Linked DNA regions of Homo sapiens: regions 2, 3, 4 and 5 are each linked to region 1. Evidence: promoter capture Hi-C in 16 types of primary human blood cells and fetal thymus (Javierre and others, 2016). All regions are on one chromosome and are shown on one strand. The core of a region is centred on a gene start or on the middle of the fragment in contact, and the rest is flanking DNA. Distances in the headings are between cores, read along the strand shown.

Region 1 (2,845 bases), core at 188-2,687:
GGCCAACAAATAGAGAAATGCAAATTCTCACAAGTAAACAGATTTGGAATTCTAGAAGGTGGCAGATTATCAATAGCTGTATCCAGATCCTTTGGAGTGGTGGATGGTTTTATATTAAAACTTGGTAATAGCTCACCAGGAAATAAAATTCAGCCTTAACCTTCTAGGCAATTGGGATGTTGCTGAGAATAATCAAGACAATCAAAAAAAAAAAAAAAAAAAAAGGTCGGGTGTGGTGGCTCACACCTGTAATCCCAGCACTTTGGGAGGCCGAGGCAGGTGGATCACCTGAGGTCAGGAGTTTGAGACTAGCCTGGACAACATGGTGAAACCCCGTCTCCACTAAAAATACAAAAATTAGCTGGGTGAGGTGGCGCATGCCTGTAATCCCAGCTACTTGGAAGGCTGAGGCAGGACAATTTCTTGAACCTGGGAGGTGGAGGCTGCTGTGAGCTGAGATTGCACTACTGCACTCCAGTCTGGGAGACAAGAGCGAAACTCCGTCTCAAAACAACAGCAACAAACCCACACCAAAAAAACTGTATGAACAGCAGACAAGATGACTACAGTGTTTTTCTTTTGTCTGTTTCCACTAGCATAAAAGACTTCATATTTTTAAAAAGTTTCTTATCCCAGAAAATATCACAATCCGTTTAGAATACGAGTTCAGGCTCAATTCCTTCCTGACTGTACAGAAGAGCTCAAGATGTTGCAGACCTTATCTTAAAAGCTGGCTTGGTAGTCACCTAAACATTTCATAAATAATTTACTAACTCTCAAAACACTAAACACGCAGGCCCTTGATTTCAAAAGCCAATCTTGCTGGGATGGAGTGGGGTGGGGGACCTGGGATGGGGGATGAAAGGGGTTGGAAATGGGGAGATATTGGTCAAAGGGTACAAAGTTTCAGTTAGTGTGAATAATAAGTTCTGAAGATCTGTTGTCTAACATGGTGACTGCGATAAATGTATTGTGTCCTTAAAAATTGATGAGAGTAGATCTTAAATGTTCTCTTCATTAAAAAATGGTGCAATGGATACGTTAATTTCATTGATGTAATCATTTCACAATGCATACATATGTCAAAACATCACCTTGTACACCACAAATATACCCAACTTTTATTTGTCAATTACACTTTAATAAAGCTGGGGGAAGCCACTCTTTTTTTGGGCACAGCATCCGGCTTTTATTTACTAACTTTGAGAACAGAGTACCTTGATCAATTAAATGGTAGGGAGCGCTGTGGAGACAGCATCCTCCCCAGTCCGGGAAGAGAGGCCTAGGATGCCTGGGGCCCAGCGGCCTCTTCCCTCCTGGCGTCCCCGGCTGCCCTCGCTCCCAGGCCCCGCAGTCTCATTTGCCGCTTCCGACGCGTGACCCCGGCGCGCTAGCGTCCGGGACCGGTGACAGGCGCGGGGTGCGCCAAGCAGTCCCATGTGTCCCCTCCCTCTCGCAGCCGCCGCAGTCGCTGCGCCCCGAGCCCCTCTCCGGCTCCTCAACAGAGGGCTCGCCGCCGCCATGTCTACCGCCCAGTCACTCAAATCCGTGGACTACGAGGTGTTCGGAAGAGTGCAGGGTAGGAGGCCCCTCTACGGTGGGAGATCAAAAAGGTTATGGGAGGAAGGGGAGAAAGCTGTGAGAAGCGCCTCCCACCTAAAGTATGCCTTTTCCCGTTGTGGCTGGGACTTCCGCTCCGCCATGACACAGCAGCGGCGGCGGGGAGGGAGGCGAAACGCGCATGCGCCCGAGGACTTGGACGGGCGGAAGTACGGGAATGGGGAGGGAAGTGGGGGAGCGGGAGAGGAGGGGTCAGGGGACTGCTGAGGACCAGAAGTGGGCGGCTGCTGGGTGCGGGAGTAAGCGGCACGGGGGAATGTTGAAGTTGGGTAGGAAAAGAAGAGGGTCTTTTAACTAGTGGTCTCGTTGCTTGCCACTGAAGCTACCTGGGCTTGACTTGAGTTTTAGGAAGGACACTTAGATGGTTTAAGGTTAATTTTTCAGAGGTCAAACCTTTTTTTAGACCTCTTTGTAGCTCTTAAAAGAATGAAATTGTTATCTAATTTTTGTTTCATCCTAAGTTTAAGTAGTTGCCAAGTTTGTAATGTCTGGCTTGTTGAAAATATTGATATTTATAAATGAAAATATTAAGTCACTCTGAGATTTATGCAATGGAATATAAATAGGGTAGTGATTTAACATCCACCATCTTCATTTAAAATAAAACTCTTCAACAATGGGAAATTTTACTCATTTCTTTTCCTCTTTGAATTTGATTTTCATTTCACTTTTCCCACCGAATTACCCCATTGTTTTGCTTGAGGGTTTTTTTTTTTTTTTTGCTCACCCTATCATACTTTTCTGCAATATGTATATGTACATATATGCACATGTATGAATAAGTGTAATGCTTTTTCTTAATTTCCTTTGACAATAAGGCTCTCTTAGAAACAAATGCTGGTTCTTTGGTGCCAAAAAGAAGAACTAGCGCTCAAAGAATTTTCTCAGCAAGGCAATTTTACCTCTATAGAAGGGTGCGACTCGCGGATGAAGCAATGGCAACGGCACACCTGAACAGGGGAGGGGAAGGGGTTCTTATTCCTGATGCAGGTAGCCTCTACTGCTGTGTCTTTCCCCTACTGGCTAGGGTTGGACCGCACAGTCTAAGCTAATTCCGACTGGCTATTTTAAAGAGCAGGCGTACGAGCTCAAGTGGCGGGGTGAATAATTTGGCAGGAAGGGTGGTTACAGAACAGGTGACTCAGGATGATTCAGGTCAGAGCAGGTGACCAGGGGTGACTCAGGATGGAGCAGGTGACCAGAGGAATAGAGGTGAACTACTGAT
Region 2 (2,845 bases), core at 1-2,500, 1.4 Mb after region 1:
AAAAAAAAAAAAAAAGGCACATAATGATCATCTTCATGCATTCAGGTAAGATACTGTGTGCACATTCACAAAATAAAAATAGACTAAAGGATGGTTTATGGAATACTATGCAGTTGCAAAGAAAGCACAAATTTATATTTTTAAAAGATAAAGATATAAGAAAAAAATTCATAACTGTACATATAATCCTATTTATGTAAAAAATATATATATATATATGGTTGTCTGAAGATATTTTGGGACTCCAAACACCTTCACAATGACCACTGAAGACCCCATTCCACAATGGACTCCACCTAAATGCTGAGTTGGAGTTATAATAAGATTTGGTTACCAAGGCATTTATTTAAGTGAGTATTAACTTTGCTCTTGCCCTTGAAAAGCTCCTAATTCTAGTTATCTTTATCCAAGCGTAAGAGATTAAAGACCCGCCTGAAGATACAGATGCAAACTGACCGTAAGACAATCAGCGAGTCTCACACAGCTCGGCTTTGTATTTTCAGACAACCCTTTAATTACAAACGCCTCTGGGCCAATGGTCTGAAAATGGTTGGGACTGAGGTGCTGGGGATACAATGATGAACTGCAGCCGCTGAAGCCCTGTCAGGTGGAGACCCGGTTACCTCAGACCCTCACTGAGCCTTTTCTTTTTTCTTTTCTTTCTTCCTGTTTTTCTTTTGAGACGCAGTCTCCCAGGCTGCAGTGCAGTGGCTCACTGCAACCTCGGCTTCCCGGGTTCAAGCGATTCTCCTGCCTCAGCCTCCCGAGTACCTGGGATTACAGGCGGCGCCACCACGCCAGGCTAATTTTTGTATTTTTGGTAGAGACGAGGTTTCACCATGTTGGCCAAGCTGGTCTCGACCTCCTGACCTCAGGTGATCCGCAAGCCTCGGCCTCCCAAAGTGCTGGAATTACAGGCGTGAGCCACCGCGCCCGTCTACTGCGCGTTTTCTAAACCTTGGCTCCTACGCATTTATCAGAAGAGAGAGCGCAATCTGTCTATGACTTCCAGCCAATAGCTACACTTCTTTTCTCAGCCCTCGTCCACTGTTCTTTTTTAACCAATCAGAAACGTTTTTCAAACGTTTGCCCTCCCCGCTAAGTGCGCAGGCTCCTGGAAAGTTGTCTTCACTTCCGGGCCGCGGTCTAGGGCGGCTACGTGTGTTGCCATAGCGACCATTTTGCATTAACTGGTTGGTAGCTTCTATCCTGGGGGCTGAGCGACTGCGGGCCAGCTCTTCCCCTACTCCCTCTCGGCTCCTTGTGGCCCAAAGGCCTAACCGGGGTCCGGCGGTCTGGCCTAGGGATCTTCCCCGTTGCCCCTTTGGGGCGGGATGGCTGCGGAAGAAGAAGACGAGGTGGAGTGGGTAGTGGAGAGCATCGCGGGGTTCCTGCGAGGCCCAGACTGGTCCATCCCCATCTTGGACTTTGTGGAACAGAAATGTGAAGGTAAAAACCAGAGCCCGAACCGACAATCCTTTTCTCCTCTCTCACACCAGCGGCGGGCAGGGGGTTGGTAACCACAAGCCATCTCTCGTCTCCCCGACCCCCTGTCTCCACCCCTGTCGCAAGGTCTCGTTCCCCTCACCACCTTCTCCACCCGCGTCATCAGGTTTAGAGCTGGTTGTGTGGGAGGAATTCCTTTCACCCTGCCAATGTGTTCCTTCGCAGACCTGAAAACGGGGACCGAGACTCCCCTTCTCTGGGGCCGAAGCGCACGTCCGAAGAACATTAGACTTGAATCGTAAATTCGGTCTCTCACCCTGTCCCGAACGTTTCTGCCCTCGGCAGGTGGACTGTTTGGCTGGGCTTCTTCAACAGCTTTGCCAGACTTGAGAGGAGAAGCGTCGGTTTACCTGAGTTCCTTATGATCCCTAGCATTTCGCCCGGTGTAGTCAGCTTAGGAAATGAGAAATGATTTCACTCCAAACCAACAGTTAACTGCAAAGGAGGGCATGTGATAACTCCAGGAAGCCCAGAGCCGGTGATTTTGGTGGCCTGTGTTCCCCTTGGTGAGCTCTCTACTCTTCGCTATACCAAAAATTGGCGAGGTGGGGCAGGACCATTCTTGGAACAAATGAGGCGTATAGATATGGCATAATATTCCCCGTGAAGGACAGGCATCTCCGGGTTCTGAGCAGTTCTTCAGGCTTGGAGTTCTGCATTCAGTTCGTGGAGACTATTTGCAGCCCATTCGCAGAAAAGGAACCAGAAACCACGTCATATAAATGAGTGCCCAAGCGTTATTGTGGTTGTTTAATCGGGCAAGACTTTGAGGGTAGTAGTATTCATCAATTATTTGAACATCTGCTTTGTGTTGTAAGGTTGAGTAGAATAGAGCTAGGGTCAGTTGGTACAAGCTACAGGGAAACAAATTTCAGTGAAGGAAGTGTTTCATGATAGAATGTATCCAAGATGAGTTAGCCAGCCTCAGAAGGTAATGAGCTTCCCGGCTCCAGCAGTGTTTGAATGGATCTGATAGCGACTTAATAGGGTTAGAGGGATTCAGCTATTCAGCTATCAAATGGTCGGTTATCCTGGATGACCTTTTAAGACTTCTTTAAATTCCAAGATATCATGAATCTGGTAAAGATGAAATTCAGTTTGACCACTGAATCTTTTCATTACATTTTCATTGCTATAATCAATATTCAAATCGTAGTTATTAAAGTGTTATTTTTACAGGTAATTTTTTAACAATGTTCAAAAACAAAATAACTTGTATTTGTACTCCTTTTTTTTTTTTTTTTTTGGGAGACAGAGTGTCGCTCTGTTGCCCAGGCTGGAGTGCAGTGGCGTGATCTTGGCTCACTGCATTGTTTTATACATATGATCATTCAGTAAA
Region 3 (2,845 bases), core at 135-2,634, 1.3 Mb after region 1:
TCTTTTTTCCTCTCTTAGGAAACCAGATTCTCATTTTCTCTCTTATTTTACCAAATTATCAAAGAATACACAATGTGGCTTGGATTTCAGTACTGAAGACAAGTGACAATACATGGTTGACAGAATGAAAAACTAAAGTTTCACAATTTTAACAGGTAAAATATCTAGGTTGTGATAATGGGCTGAGCCCATAACATTAGCATTCCTTTCAAGATCCAATTCTTAAACCACCTGAATATTTCTGGCCAATGAACCAAATTAGGGGCTTAAAACATCGTGTCTCAAAGTTCACCATATGCTATTTCTCAAAGAAAACGTTACCTAGGAAAGAAGGAAGAACTTACATTTGGAGCATGACCTGGTTCAAGAATACCCCATCCACCAAAGCCACATATTCATCAAGGTTGGTCCCATTTCCTGCGGCCAGAGGTCCAAACGTTTTAACCTAGAACAAACAGAAGGATCACCACGACATGAACGCCCACCTCCATCTCTGCAGCCACAAATAACTCAGCAAAATATACAATAAAGGACACCCCACTTACCCAAGTGACCAAAGGGCTGGTCATGAACTGCTCCAGAAGGGGAGTAAAAATTTCGTTCTCCATTTTACAGAGTATGTATTTGAAAAAAGGAACTACCACAAAAATACGCCTAGGGAATTGGTCACTAAACGTGGAAGTAAGTAGAAATCAATGAAAGTCCATTTCGGCAAGGGAGAAAAATCCCATCGTGGAGGAGGGGGGCACTCTCCCTCCTCAAAAAACACCCCAGAGTGAAACGAGCCGAAATCCCAAGAAGTGGCTTCGACGACGGACACCACGAGCAGCAGCCTGCGCTGGAAATGTCTGTACCGGGCGAGGAGGGGCAGAGAAAAGGCATCTGGAGGAGGAGGAAGGGAAAGGGGGCTGGAACCCAAGACAAAAAGCCCGTCAAGGTTGTCCAGCTCCTGGAGGATCCAGACCAGCGAAACTGCTCCCAATGAATCAATCCCAACGGGGGCTAAATGAAATACGTTAAACAGAGACCACGTTAAGGATACCGAGGCGCCACCAGACTCGACCTCGGCGTTCCGACCTCTACACGTTCCACCCACCGATGGGCATGGAGCCGCTTTCGACCCGCGGAGCCTCCACTGCCCGCAGCCCCTCAGTACCAACAGGCAGGGCTCGCCCCTTCCCCCCGAGCAGACACCATTCCTCCGCCGCCCTCAAGCCTCGCCTCCAGCCCCCTTCCCCTCCCGGGGGTGGGGGCTTGAATGTGTGTCCCTAACCCCCCAGCTTCCTAAGCCCTGCCAGCCTTTCAGCGCGTCTCTGGGAATCCCTGGCACAAAATCACCGCCGCGCTCCAGCCTTCTCCGCCCTCTATGGAGAAGCCGGAGTAACGGCCTCAGAACCGCAGTGCCGCATCACACCCCACCCCTCGCCGCCCGCCAGCGCCGCCCGCCAATGCCGGGGGCCGCCGTCAAAGGGAGCGCGCTGCTCCCTCCGCGCCGATATCCTTCCGCCGACTCCCCGCCCCTCCCGTGCAGCTGCCTCTGGATTGTGGGAGAAGAAAACCGCTGCATGAGCGCGCTCCCGAGCGAGCGCGCCCCCGGGCTAGCCTCGCCGCCGCCCAGATCCTGGCGGCGGGCGCGGGCTCGGGCGTGGGCGCGCGCTCGCTGCAGCTGCTGCGGAGACAACCCGCTCCTCGGTTGCGCCCAGGACGGTTGCCTGGTGGGCGGGGACAGGGAAGGCAGAGCAAGGGGTCTGTCTGCTCGCTCGCTCATGCCTAATTATGGTTTATTTCCTCCCCGAGTGACTTCTTTGATACGTGAAGGAAGGGGAAAGAAATCCTTCTCTTATAAACATGAGGGATGCAGACAGCCTTTTTCGGACAGTTTGATGTGTTCTGTAAAGCATGCCTTCTCCCCAGCAAAATGGAATAGGAAAACTCACTGCAGCAAATGGCAGAGGGACTTGAGCCACAACTTGGTGGGGGTTTTTTTCTCCTTTTTGTTTTCTTCCAAATGCAGTCCACTAACGCATGAATGTTCTTCAAAGTTGCAAGTGACATACAGTAAGATTTTTTAAAAACCAGAGCTGTCTGTCAGCACGTTGGTATTCCCTGACTGGAGCAAACATGACTCAGACATTGTTTTTTGGTTTTGTTTTGTTTTTTACTATTTGGGCATGGGTCGGGGGAAACCCAAGCAAAATCAAGAGCTACAAAGAAGAAACATTTAGAAGTCATCCAAGTTGGGTGACAAATAAACAGATTACATATTTGTCATAAATCTCCATGCCACGTACGACTGGGACCTTGAAATAATTTTAAGTTCCCTGGCAAAATCAAATGCTACTCCTCATTTCAAAGGAAAATAAAGACCTTTTTCCCGGGGTAAAATGGGCATATAGAACGCAATCTTTTTTTGATAAAAGATAATATTATAGTTTTATAATGTGTGCTATGTTTACATTACATAAATATTTACACGGAGTATATATTTTAAATTAGCAGTAAAAATGTTTTTGTCATAACACAGTTAAGAAAGAGCAGAATTTCTTAATTGGGTAGTTGAGAACCTGGACTCTGAAGTCTTCCTGCCTGGTTCCAATATGCACCAGCTGTGTGAGCCTACGCACGTTATTGAGTCTCTTTGTGCTTCGATTCCGTCACGTGTAAAGCAGGGCTAATAATAGGGTTAAATGAAATGGCAGCTTATAGTTAAGTGTTCTATAAATGTCATTAATGTTGTTTTTAACATTATTCCTTCAAAATAAAGAACCTTTATGAAAAACTTGAAATATAACCTCTCTGCTTCAGTTACAGGAGAAAGGATCTTGCTTTGAGGAGGGAACTAAAT
Region 4 (2,845 bases), core at 239-2,738, 1.2 Mb after region 1:
AAACCATATCACATGTCTTGATACTCGCTTATAAGCTTTGAGGATTCATTGCTTATAAGTTAAAAATATTCACAAGTCATTAACTTGTTTACCTTCGGACAATTATGAGGTTGTGTATGTGTGTGTAATCGAGCAAGCATTTTACCTTAAAAGGCTTATTCGAGTAAAGATCAAGGAAAAATCTAACTTAATGCCAACGAAATAAACACATTAAGATTTAGAAATTCAGGCTGGGCGTGATGGCTCATGCCTGTAATCCTAGCACTTTGGGAGGTCGAGGCGGGCGGATCACCTGAGGTCAGGAGTTCGAGACCAGCCTGGCCAACATGGTGAAACCCCCTCTCTACTAAAAGTACAAAAATTAGCCGGGTACGGTGGCGGGCGCCTGTAATCCCAGCGACTTGGGAGGCTGAGGCAGGAGAATCGCTTGAACCCAGGAGGCAGAGACTGCAGTGAGCCGAGATCAGGCCACTGCACTCCAGCCTGGGCGACAGTGAGACTCTGTCTAAAGAAAAAAAAAAGAAGATTTGGAAATTCATTCAATAGTATTTACACACATTAAATACTTCTAAGAATGGCACATGGAAAATATCTTATTTACGTTTGTGCCCCTGGACCAAGAAGTAGAGTGCTCAGGTAACACAGGATTCCTTGAGAAAATAATTTTTAAATCAGTATGAAACCAGATTTGAGAAGAGCACAGATTAATGGAGTGGGAGGAAGGACCCTACGAGATATTAACCAAAGCACAGATATGTAATTGAGGCAGGAACTGGAAAGACACATTGGAGGCAATAACCCAAATGTCAAAACTGGAAGGAAACTTGTCACTTACTCCAAGCTCCTCATTTTACAGAAAAGGAAACGGAAATCCAGAAGGGTCAAAAAAGCTTCTCCAATGTCATACCGCTAGTTAATGGCAGTCAAGACTAGAACCCAGACGTTCTGACTCCCAGTACGGTGTTGTTTCGCCGCTAGGATATCCTTGTCAAGGAATCTGAAAAAAGTATGTTGCAAATACGTAGTTGCGTTAGGGAAAACGTCTGAATGTGAGCTGGAAGCTTTGGAACTTACCAGAAAGGTAAAAATAAATCACTGCAGAAAAATTACGGATCTGGGGTGGCTCGCCTCAAATTGGAGCCCAGAAGGCCTTGGGCCCATGGGAGGCTGGGAAGTGAGGACCTGCACCCACAGCCGCGCGCGAGGAGGGGAAGCCGGCCAGCCGCTTCCGAGAGAACAGTGCACATGCCTTCGTGAATGCCTAACGTGGGCTCACGCAGGGATTAAATGCATCTTGGAAAGGCTTCCGAACGCACAATGTTTATGAAGTTCGCGTGATTTGTGCCACTGACACGTTAGGCGAAACAACACACACCACCTGCACCGGACAACCCTGGTTAAGGGATCCTACCCACTTAACTCCTACCTACAGCCCCGGGCCCCTGGATTCTGAGCACGGGCGGAGATCACCTTCTGGACCCGGAAGAATGGTCGGTAGGTCAGTCCGTCCCCGCTACGGTCCCCGCCGGGCTTCCGGTCCCGCTGGAAAAGGTTCTTTCCGGAATTCAGAGAGTTGCTGTCGCCGCTGGGGGTGGGACTGTCTGCGGTGTCCGCGGCGGGCGTCCAGCCTGGGAGGCGCTGGTTCAACCTGTGGCTCCTCCCAGGGTCAGCCGCGCGTGGTGAATCGTTTCTGCAGGTCCCTTCCATTTCTTACTTTCCTTTCCTTTCTTTCTCTCTTTCCTTTTTTTCTTTCTGTCCCTCTCCTTTCTTTCCTTCCTTCCTTTCTTCATTTCTTCCTTCCTTTCCTCTTCCTTCCTTTCCGTTTTTCTTTCTCTTTTTTTTTTTTTTAAGAAAACTGCCTTTATTCAATTAGAAGTTGGAAAAATTAACTGGTACAGAAAAAAAGTGTAATCAGCTGGAGAAAAAGTGCCACCCATGAGAACTGATGGCTCCTCTGGGAGGGAATCTGGATACAGTGAGGATTTCTAGGAAGCAAATTACTTCTTCTCTGGGGCTATGAGAGGCCTCGGTGGTGCTTAACACTGTAGGAAACGTTAAATGGAGAATTGTGGGAGAAATGATACCTCCTTCAAAGATACGTGTTCCTAACAAGAAGGAAAAAACAAATGCAAGCGAACAGTGGCGGTAGAACCAGTTAGTATTGTGCGAACAGTACTTTCTGTTTTCTCCTAAGTCAGCTCGTGTGTATGGCATTAGGAGTAATAGAGCCAGAGTGCCTGGTTTCCTATCCCAGCTCATTCCTAGTGTGTGGTTGGGAATGTTTTGTCAACTGTCCATGTCCCAGTTTGTTCATCTACATTATAGTAATGACAGTAGCTAGTTCACAGGATTGTAATAAGGTTTTTGTTGTGTTTTTGTTTCTATTTGTTTTTGAGATGGAGTTTCGCTCTTGTTGCCCAGGCCGGAGTGCAATGGCACGATCTCAGCTCACCGCAACCTCTGCCTCCCGGGTTCAAGCGATTCTCCTGCCTCAGCCTCCCGAGTAGCTGGGATTACAGGCATGTGCCACCACTCCTGGCTAATTTTGTGTTTCTTGTAGAGACAGGGTTTTTCCATGTTGGTCAGGCTGGTCTCGAATTCCCTATTTCAGATGATCCGCCCACATCGGCCTCCCAAAGTGCTGGGATGACAGGCGTTAGCCACCTCTCCCAGACTGTTTTTTGTTTTTTTTGAGACAGTGTCACTCTGTCGCCCAAGCTGGAGCACAATGGCGCGATCTCGGCTCATTGCAACCAAACTCCGCTTCCTGGGTTCAAGTGATTCTCCCGCCTCAGCCTCCCGCGTAGCTGAGATTACAGGGGCACATCACCATGCCTCACTAATT
Region 5 (2,845 bases), core at 128-2,627, 1.1 Mb after region 1:
ATTTTGTTGTAGAGACTAGTTGGCGGACTAGGGGATGAAAAATGTTCCAGGAGGCAGGGCGTGGTGGCTCACGCCTGTAATCTCACCACTTTGGGAGGCCAAGGAGGATGGATCATTTGAGGTCAGGAGCTAGAGAACAGCCTGGCCAACATGGTGAAACCCCATCTCTACTAAAAATACAAAAATTAGCCGGGTGTGGTGGTGGGCGCCTGTAATCCCAGCTACTCGGGAGGCTGAGGCAGAAGAATTGCTTGAACCTGGGAGGCGGAGTTTACAGTGAGCCGAGACCGCGCCACTGCACTCCAGCCTGGGCAACAGAGCGAAATTCCGTCTCACGAAAAAAAAAAAAAAAAGTTCCAGGAAGAATAAACGACTGGATTCTTCAGAAATGCCAAAACACGGGAGGGCATAGGTCAGGAAATTAAATTAGCTTCATTTACTAAAATGTAGAGTAATGGGTTTAGCAGATTAGGTTGTAAGGAAGGCAGAGGCTGAATGTCATTCTAAGAAATTTGAATTGTATCCTGAAGGTGAGGTATAAAATAATAACACACATTTACCTTTCAGAATGAATATTTTGGAGGCAATAGTGAAGGTGGGTTAGAAAGGAGGAAAGACTGGAGAGAGATAAGGAGTTAGATTCGGAACCCCTACAAGAGAAAATTAAGGTCTGAATTTGGGGATGGGGTCGCAGAGGGCAGAGGATGAAGAAATAAATACAGAAGACATTAGAAAGGACTCTGGTTTGTGGAGTGGAGAAAGGACAGGGAGAACTTGCTTCTAATTGGCCTCCTTGCCGGAAGAAGCACCCCATACATACTCCAAAAACTTCCTCTCAGATCCAAGACTCCCAATGCCCAAATTTGGAAATTCTACAACTAAATAACCATTCTGCAGGTTTCTTTTCCGTACGGCTTCACTTTAAAATTTGAAAACTCCTGAGATTTTTCAACATATTAAAGCGTGTCACACTAAGGAGTGACACACAAGACCCAGACTCTTCCCTAGGCTGGGAGAGACTCGGCGGTTGAAAGCAGGGAGGCGCTACAGGAGAGAAAGGGCTGAACCCCCGCTTCCGCAGATTTCACCTATTTTTCAGTTTGCCTGGAGCAGGCCACGCAAATTCCCTTCCCTTGAAGGCCCAAGGAGCGTCTGGTAGATTGCTGATTCTCTGCCCATCACCGCTTCTGGAAGTGAGTGAAGGACACCTTTCGTGCCCCGCACCCTTTGCCCCCCGCTTAACATTTGCTCTAGTCACTTCCGGCCCGTTCCCACGCTCCGGAAACCATTATTCCGCTTCATCCTACCTCCAGTCCTCACCTGAGTCCTTTTCTCCAAACACCGACTTCAGTGCTTAGAGATAGTAACTAGGGAATCTGGGAGGTGGAACTGCATCTTGGGACAAGTAGTCCAAGGTAGAAGAAAGCAGTGGAGAACTACAGTTCCCAGAATGCACTTCCATTTCCTACCTCTTCCCCAAGAGGCCCCCCTCGACCTCCTTTTAAAAATTCTCTTAGCCACGTTGATTGTACGGGAAAAGCCTTTTTAAAACATCTTTTACGTTGCTTAAACCTACAGTTTCGAAAGCATTCCGAAGGCTAAAGTGAGAAATAAGCCCAGGCTAGGGAGAGGAGAAACGAAGTTCACGTCCTAGTCTGGCACCGGGTTGGATTGTCGCTGGGACGGCAGTCAGGCATTTGGTGTGGTCGCCTAAGGGGTGGGTCCTTCGGCGGGAGCTCCGGGAAACCCCGTGGGCCTGCGCGGCGTTCTTCCTTTTCGATCCGCCATCTGCGGTGGGTGTCTGCACTTCGGCTGCTCTCGGGTTAGCACCCTATGGTGCCTTCTCTTGTGATCCCTGACCTAACCTGTCTCTTCCTTTTCCTCAACCTCAGGTGGAGCCGCCACCAAAATGCAGATTTTCGTGAAAACCCTTACGGGGAAGACCATCACCCTCGAGGTACGGGCCGGGTGGTCATGAGGAAGCCAAGGTCCGAATAAGGTCCTGAGGTGGATTTTAGGACCGGCGCTGCTTTCCATGTCTTAGACCATGATTCCGAATTTGGGTTCTAAAACTTAAGCTTTGAAATGAGTACCTTTTGCTGAGCAACGACCTAGAGGTGATTTTCGGTGGCCAAAGGCTGGACCTGTCTCCTCTCGAGGGGTTCCAGCTAGTTAGTTAAAACGGAGGAGCTGCGGTGGGGAAGGAGACGCTCTGCCCGCCGGGTGCGAGCACGTGTGGCCCTGCGGCCGCCGCCCGCTCTGGGCTGGGGAGATGAAGGTGCTTTCCGGTAGCCGACTTGGGAGGTTGCCCACTGGGTGGGTAATAGGTCTCTCGAGTAGGTCTCAGCCCTGTCGCTGGTTCGGTTCAGTGGTAATTGTCAAACTAAATGAGTTCTGCTGTAGTTCCTTAATGTGTAACCAACATGCTTTCACTTTAACACTCATAGGTTGAACCCTCGGATACGATAGAAAATGTAAAGGCCAAGATCCAGGATAAGGAAGGCAAGTAGTATTTTGTAGTTAAGAAAACTTAACCTGCGGAGACTTCGGCCTACCTGTAGGTGCTAGACATACCTGCTCTTGGTGATGGGGGAAGGGGTCAGATTGACAAAGCGAAATACTTGTGGAATAACACAATAGACATTGGTGATCGGGGAGCACAGTACCTAGATTGGAATCCTTGAGGTGTATTTCACTTGCGTGAATTTGGACACTTATTTATTTATTTTGTGTGAGATGGAGTCTCCTCTGTCGCCCAGGCTGGAGTGCATTCGCTTGTCCCGGCTTACTGCAGCCTCCGCCTCCCGGGTTCAAGTGATTTTTGTGCTTCAGCCTCCCTATTAGT

Evidence for each region. The method cuts DNA at HindIII sites, captures the fragments that hold promoters and counts their contacts. A CHiCAGO score of 5 or more calls a contact.
Region 2: the fragment with the promoter of CFAP36 here is called in contact with the fragment with the promoter of ACYP2 in region 1 in 8 of 17 cell types (fetal thymus, neutrophils, monocytes and 5 more); the score reaches 9.4 in fetal thymus.
Region 3: a contact is called between the fragment with the promoter of CCDC88A here and the fragment with the promoter of ACYP2 in region 1, in 1 of 17 cell types (monocytes). The highest score is 5.6, in monocytes.
Region 4: a contact is called between the fragment with the promoter of MTIF2 here and the fragment with the promoter of ACYP2 in region 1, in 8 of 17 cell types (total CD4 T cells, fetal thymus, total B cells and 5 more). The highest score is 10.2, in total CD4 T cells.
Region 5: a contact is called between the fragment with the promoter of CLHC1 here and the fragment with the promoter of ACYP2 in region 1, in 16 of 17 cell types (fetal thymus, total CD4 T cells, total B cells and 13 more). The highest score is 33.3, in fetal thymus.

The regions. Positions count from the first base shown.
Region 1 is chr2:54,114,178-54,117,022 of GRCh38, forward strand. ACYP2 (acylphosphatase 2) reads left to right here and starts at 1,438. Exons shown (of 4, transcript NM_138448.4): 1 at 1,438-1,579. The coding sequence starts at 1,522. RefSeq lists silencers at 1,267-1,336, 1,827-1,886. The HindIII fragment of the contact is 9,756 bases long and covers 1-2,845 here.
Region 2 is chr2:55,518,468-55,521,312 of GRCh38, forward strand. CFAP36 (cilia and flagella associated protein 36) reads left to right here and starts at 1,251. Exons shown (of 10, transcript NM_080667.7): 1 at 1,251-1,449. The coding sequence starts at 1,335. RefSeq lists enhancers at 552-601, 1,782-2,031. The HindIII fragment of the contact is 7,670 bases long and covers 1-2,845 here.
Region 3 is chr2:55,418,472-55,421,316 of GRCh38, forward strand. It overlaps CCDC88A (coiled-coil domain containing 88A), which reads right to left and starts at 1,385. Exons shown (of 33, transcript NM_001365480.1): 1 at 546-1,385; 2 at 345-445. The coding sequence starts at 608. RefSeq lists silencers at 1,286-1,355, 1,386-1,435, 1,496-1,785. The HindIII fragment of the contact is 14,096 bases long and covers 1-2,845 here.
Region 4 is chr2:55,267,743-55,270,587 of GRCh38, forward strand. It overlaps MTIF2 (mitochondrial translational initiation factor 2), which reads right to left and starts at 1,489. Exons shown (of 16, transcript NM_002453.3): 1 at 1,427-1,489; 2 at 836-997. RefSeq lists enhancers at 1,432-1,581, 1,527-2,350. The HindIII fragment of the contact is 1,895 bases long and covers 1,060-2,845 here.
Region 5 is chr2:55,230,916-55,233,760 of GRCh38, forward strand. It overlaps CLHC1 (clathrin heavy chain linker domain containing 1), which reads right to left and starts at 1,378. Exons shown (of 13, transcript NM_152385.4): 1 at 1,308-1,378. RPS27A (ribosomal protein S27a) reads left to right here and starts at 1,773. Exons shown (of 6, transcript NM_002954.6): 1 at 1,773-1,793; 2 at 1,893-1,957; 3 at 2,448-2,502. The coding sequence starts at 1,910. RefSeq lists enhancers at 1,423-1,852, 1,873-2,052. The HindIII fragment of the contact is 5,653 bases long and covers 1-2,076 here.